Regions from separate parts of the Homo sapiens genome. Here region 1 is linked to region 2. Evidence: promoter capture Hi-C in human tissues and cell types (Jung and others, 2019). All regions are on one chromosome and are shown on one strand. Each heading gives the region's core, a stretch centred on a gene start or on the middle of the fragment in contact. The rest is flanking DNA. Distances are from core to core; before and after follow the strand shown.

Region 1 (2,929 bases), core at 358-2,857, 410 kb before region 2:
TATTATACTGAATATAGAAGCAAGAATCCATTGACATAAGAAGACGGTAAAGGAAAATAAACTAGTTATCTTCTGAGGAGCAGGTACAGTTAAAAACGAAATTAGGACAAAGAAAGTTGTATAGCAGCAGCTTGGAAGGGAGATGATTCACTTCAAAGGTACAACTGCCACTGCTTTTTATACAAACACATGCTTGTGGGATTATCAAATATATTAATAATGTCTATAAACATTTTTAAGGAAATGTAAAAACTTGAAATTCTTTTGACTACTCTAGATTTTCTGAGAAAGATAGCTATTTAGGCCGGACCCAGTGGCTCATGCCTGTAATCCTAGGACTTTGGGAGGCTGAAATGGGAAGATCGCAGTTTGAGACCAGGACTTTGAGACCAGCCTGGGCAACATAGAGAGATCCCATCTTGAACTTCTGAGCTCAAGCCATTTGCCTGCCTCAGCCTCCCAAAGTGCTGGAATTATGGGCAGGAGCCACCACGCCTGGCCCAAGAGACCCTATCTCTACCAAACAAACAAACAAACAAAAAAGATAATAAGATTTATTGTTTGCATTGATTTTTTGTGTGTAGATGTGTAATACATAAAATGGCAAATGAGGGGGAAAAGTGTTTGGGTCATATTAAACAATGAAGTTGTGAAATACCTGAGATTTTGTTTCATAACCACTAATCTTCAATGTTGAGCATTTAAAATGTATTTGTTCCAGTTTTTTTTCTCTGTAATTCCTTAGACATCTGTGCAGATTTTCATTCCCACGTAAGAAGCAATAACAGACTAATGTCATCCTGGACATTTCCAGGAATTGGTTTCCTAGTTGCTCTGAGGAAGATTGCCTTTTAAAAGAAAGCTCTGATCTGTTCTTTACCAGTTCCACTTGACCTGAATTTGACATTTCTTTAAGAGACAACTAAATCAAGATCATGTGTCTGTGACATGTATTGCATATGCTAGTTAGCTGCATCTGATAGCAGTCTGTAAAAAGAAAGATGATAACATGTTTATTTTAGACATTAGGTAATGTTCATCTTTCATGAAAAAAATTGATTAGCCAATTTTGGTAATCAAAAACATAAATGGGAGTAAAAAAGGCAGTCATTGGGAAGTACTGCTGTATGGACTTGTGAAACAACTAGTTGTCCAGAGCCTTGCTACAACGTATAGAAATATTCTATTTTCTGTATTTGGGGCGGCTACACTACAAGATGAAGACGGGGAAATGTTTTCCAACTCATCGCTCAGGTCCTACTGCAACATAACTTTCTTGAGGTAAGTACCTTTCTTTGTGTTTCCTTAACACTCTCTATTTTCCCCATCACATACACTAAAAAGATTATCTTTGGTGCATCTGTATTTACACAGCAGTGTTAAATTTGGGCTGCCCTCTGCCCCGCCTCCGTCCCCCAGGCTCTTTTCACTCCCCGCTGGGTCCCAGATCCTAGGGTTTAGCTCAGGCTCCGCCCTACTCCTTGGTTGGCTGTTGGGTGGGAGGCTCGTTTCTTCCCTCCCTATTGGTCGCCCAGGGGGAGGCGCGTTTCCCATCTCCTGATAGGCCGCGCCGAGGAGAGTCTCTCCAGTTTGCGGCACTGTTGTCATTTCCGGGGTAAGATGGCTGCAGTCCGTATGCTGAGAACCTGGAGCAGGAATGCGGGGAAGCTGGTAAGCACGTTTGGGCAGATCTGAGGCCGGGAAGGAGTGATTTGTCCGGAGTCATCCAGGAGTGGTGTTTTACTTTCTCCTCCGGTGCCAGGCGTCCAGGGCACGCGTGATGGAGAGGTGAAGGGATGCATGCAAAATAAAGGGCAGAGAACGGAGCGAGTCGACCAGTCTGGAGTGGAAACCCACTCCCTCCCCTTACCTGGAAGCGCTTCTGCAGCGACTCAGCCGTCCTGCTCCATCTGTACCCCGAGGCCCAGCTAGCGTTTTATTGAGCGCCTTCCAGGTGCCCAGGCATTGTGATAGGCGCTGTGGATCCAGAGATATATTCGTTTAGCATTTATTGCGTACCCACAGTATGCCAAACACTGGTAACACGACCCCTACCCTCAAGGAATCTACAGTGTGTAGAGGAAGAGGCCGTTCAAGTTATAGAATATCAGCAGGGGTCCCTGCTTCCGAAGAACTGAGCAGCTCGGCGTCACTCTTTTGCCTTGTACTTCTATGTCCGCACCACATATCATTCCTACCCTTTTGTCACCAAGGCTGTGACCCATCACCATCTCCCCTGCACTTCCTTCTCTTTCTCCCAGTCTTAGCACCAAGCACTGACACATACCGGTAATGATACTTGTTACCCCTATTTGCTTAGTGTTTCTTCTTCCTGCCTCTTCTCCCTTTCCCTAGATGCTCCTGCCTTGGTGACCCCGATCTTACAAAAACTTTCAAGAGCCTGCTATGTACCAGTGCTGTGTTAGGCACTGGAGATACAAATATGAAATAGACATCATATCTTCCTTCTCAAGAGATTACAACCTTGTGGTGGAGGACAAAGGAGAGGGAGACAGATAGAAATTACAACCCAGCATGAGAGGTACTGTGATGGGACAAGTGCCTAGAACTACAGGAACACACAGGAGTGGACACCTATGGTGGACTTGGGGGTCAGAGGAGTTCCCAGAGGATACTGTATGACTTGAGATGTAAGAAGGATAAGTAAGAGATAACCAGGAGAAGAGAGCTCTTCTCAGCAACACTTAACACATATTGGTCTCTCTTCTTTCTAGAGCTTTCCATTCTTGTTTTCTGTGACACCAGTTTCCCAATATTATTCTTTCTTCATCTTTGGCCACTTCATCCCAATATCCTGTTTCCCTTCCCGCCTTTTAAATATTGCTTTTTCTAAAGGGCTCTGACTTTGGCCCTCTGCACTTTTCCCACTTTCTGGGTTATCCCATCCACTCTTTGGCTTTAGTTACCA
Region 2 (3,172 bases), core at 146-2,645:
ATTACCCCCACTATAAAGACAAGGAAACTGAGTACCCAAAGTTAAGTAACTTGTTTAAGATCACATAGTGAGCAAGTGAAGGAATGTGACTTCAATTGCATGCTCAGTGATTCTGTTCGGTAATGCTACATCTGAGGCAGTGATGCTACGTCCATGGCCTGGTAATCAATAAGATTTTATAAATTGAATTGGAATGTTGTTGGCTTCATATATGGCTATGCCAACAGTGAGTCTGTTTTCTTGATTCTAGGATATTCTCGCTAATCTAAGACTCTATCATCTTAGATATCTCCTTCAAGAAGTCTCTGCCTGCCGTGCCCTCCCTCCCATGGGTCTAGGTTAGGTGCTCCCTGGAGCTCCTTTGCTGTGGCTATGTTGTGCCATGTTGTGTAATAACTCATTATCCCACTAGATTTCTTCAGACAGGGCTGCGTTTTCTGTCTCTGGAAAACAGAATTACAAAATTATTTACACTACTTAGATATATTAAGAAACGTATATTTTATTCTTTTTGTTTGTTTGAAATGAAAGGTCTCACATATTTATTACTGAATCCAGCCTACCAGTGCACCAACAGCACATACACAGAGAAAAAAATATATATTCACAATAAAACATGTCCAACTGTCCAGATAGTGGTGACATTTTCAGCTTGATATGGTAAGATGGTTGTGACCTTGACACAGCATAAATATGTGTGCCATCTCATGTGTAATTCCGTACAGACCCAGCTTGATTCTTCTCCAATGTCTCCTTTTGGAGTTCTACCTGATTTTATTACCAGTTTTCATCTGGATCCACTGGGGGATGGGATGATTTTGCTTTTGTTTCTTGACCACGAAATGCTTAATCCTGAAAGTCTTGTGAGAAGACATGGCAAGAAGCAGAGTCAAGCACACACCTCGATGGCAGAGAAAGGAAGAGAGTATATTTTATTCTTAAAAGCTTCTCCAATTTCCTTTACCGTTTCCTAACTGCTAGGCAGGTGTGGGAAAACAAAAATAATTTTAGTCTAATCTGGTTGGAAACTAATTCTGAGCCAATTATTTAAATAATCTCTTTAACCCAGTCTCTTTGAAATCATTGTTCTATTGTTTCGACGCCCCTTTCTCTCTCTACTTTGTTCTAAGAGATGTCTAGTATAAGGAGCAGGATCTCACATGAACTGGTTGCACTGGGGGAGTTGAACTCTGTGACCTTGAACTGGTTCTTGTGCAGGGGCTGGCATCACCTAATGTGTATCTGTCTAGTCCTGTTCCTGGTAATCCTGTTGGCACAAACTATTGATGTCTGTAGCTGATAACTTCCTGTCTATTCTTTCTTGGCTTGGCCAGAGTCTAAAGGCATCCTCCTCCCCTACTGTCTCAGCCTTTCTTGATCCTACTTTCACTACAGACCCCTCTCTGAGTACCTAAAATGTTCTCTGCCTGGTCCAAGGCCCAAGACATCCATTTGATAAGGCTTTGCTGGAATCACCTCAACTCTGTCATGGTGGATCTATAAAATGTGTACTGGAGCTGAAACCCAGGTCCTATATGTAAGTGATCTTGCTTTACCCTCTTAATCATTCTAGGATCCCTCTTTTTGGACCCCCCCCAACCCCCGCACCCTTTTTGCCTAGTATAGCATTCTACAACCAGAGTTCAGAACAGGGAGCAGAACAAAAAGCCCTGTGTGCATTCAGTAAACACTGTGTTTGCTGTGTACTAAGCACTGTTCTATGCACTGGGGATACAGTAATGAACAAAACACACAAAAATCCTTGCCTGCATGGAATTTATAATCTAGTAATCCCCTCAACCTATTGGACTTGCTTCTATCATGATACATCAGACCGTTTCCTTCGCCTCCTCTTTTCTTTAGGTTTTCTCATCTTTACAATCTTTCAAACCCTTTCTTAAGAGAATGGGTTTCCCTTAGAAATTTTTTTGTTTCTCAAACTGCCCATAGTCTTGCTGCAAAATCCTATTTTGAATGTCAGGTGTTAAACATCACCTCTCCTTCCTCTATGCATTTATTCTATTACAATCCAAATCTCCTACAGAGGCAGATGGGTGTCTTAGGCTGAATGGAGAAAGTCTTGCATATTGCAAAGGCAAATAAGAAAGTACATTAATATCTTTAGAAATACTAACTTCATTATATCAGAAACAATAATGCACCATTCCCCCCTTCCAAATTCCTGGCAGCTACTCCTTTCTGTCTCTATGATGTTGATGACTCTAGGTACCTCATATAATAAAACCATACAGTAGTTTTTGTTACTGATTTATTTCACTTAGCAAAATATTGAGGTTCATCCATGTTGTAGCATGTGATAGTATTTCTTTTCTCTTTCTTTCTTTTTTTTTTTTGACAGGATCTCACTTTGTTGCCTACGGTGGAGTGCAGTGGCATGATTTTGACTCACTGAAGCCTCATCCTTCCAGGCTCAAGTGATCCTCCCATCTCAGCCTCCCGAATAGCTGGGACTATAGGCTCATGCCACCATGCCTAGCTAATTTTGTTTATTTTTATCTATTTATCTTGTTGAGACGAGTTCTCATAATGTTGCCCAGGCCTGTCTCGAACTCCTGGACTCCAGCAATCCTCCCACCTACCTGGGCCTCTCAAAGTGCTGGGATTACAGGCATGAGCCACCATGCCTGGCCTAGGATTACTTTTTTAAGGCTGTCTAGTATTCCATTTTGTGTACACACACATTTAGTCATCTGTTAATGGACATGTGGTTTGCTCTTGGCTCTTATGAATAATGCTATTAGGAACATGAGTGTATTAGTTTGTTTTCACACTGCTGACAAAGACATACCCGTGACTGGGTAATTTATACAGGAAAGAGGTTTAATGGACTTACAGTTCCATGTGGCTGGGGAGGCCTCACAATCATGGTGGAAGGCAAGGAGGAGCAAGTCACATCTTACATGGATGGCAGTAGGCAAAGAAAGAGCTTGTGCAGGGAAACTTCCCCTTATAGAACCATCAGATCTCATGAAACTTATTTACCAACACGTGAACAGCAGGGAAAGACCTGCCCCCCATGATTCAATTACCTCCCACCGGGTCTCTCTCACAACATGTGGAAATTCAGGATGAGATTTGGGTGGGGACACAGCCAAACCATATCAGTGGGTATACAATGATCTCTTTGAGATCATACTTTCAATTCTTTTGA

What was found. The method cuts DNA at HindIII sites, captures the fragments that hold promoters and counts their contacts. A contact is called where the count stands out against the background at its distance.
Region 1: a contact is called between the fragment with the promoter of DBT here and a fragment that was not itself captured in region 2, in 1 of the 25 tissues and cell types used here (hippocampus).

What each region holds. Positions count from the first base shown.
Region 1 is chr1:100,248,512-100,251,440 of GRCh38, reverse strand. DBT (dihydrolipoamide branched chain transacylase E2) reads left to right here and starts at 1,607. Exons shown (of 11, transcript NM_001918.5): 1 at 1,607-1,671. The coding sequence starts at 1,621. RefSeq lists a silencer at 1,388-1,487 and enhancers at 1,598-1,717, 1,319-1,878, 1,879-2,438. The HindIII fragment of the contact is 17,632 bases long and covers 1-2,929 here.
Region 2 is chr1:99,840,313-99,843,484 of GRCh38, reverse strand. It overlaps the pseudogene RPL39P9. Among named protein-coding and RNA genes, the nearest start is that of AGL, 8.5 kb to the left of the region's middle. The HindIII fragment of the contact is 7,409 bases long and covers 1-3,172 here.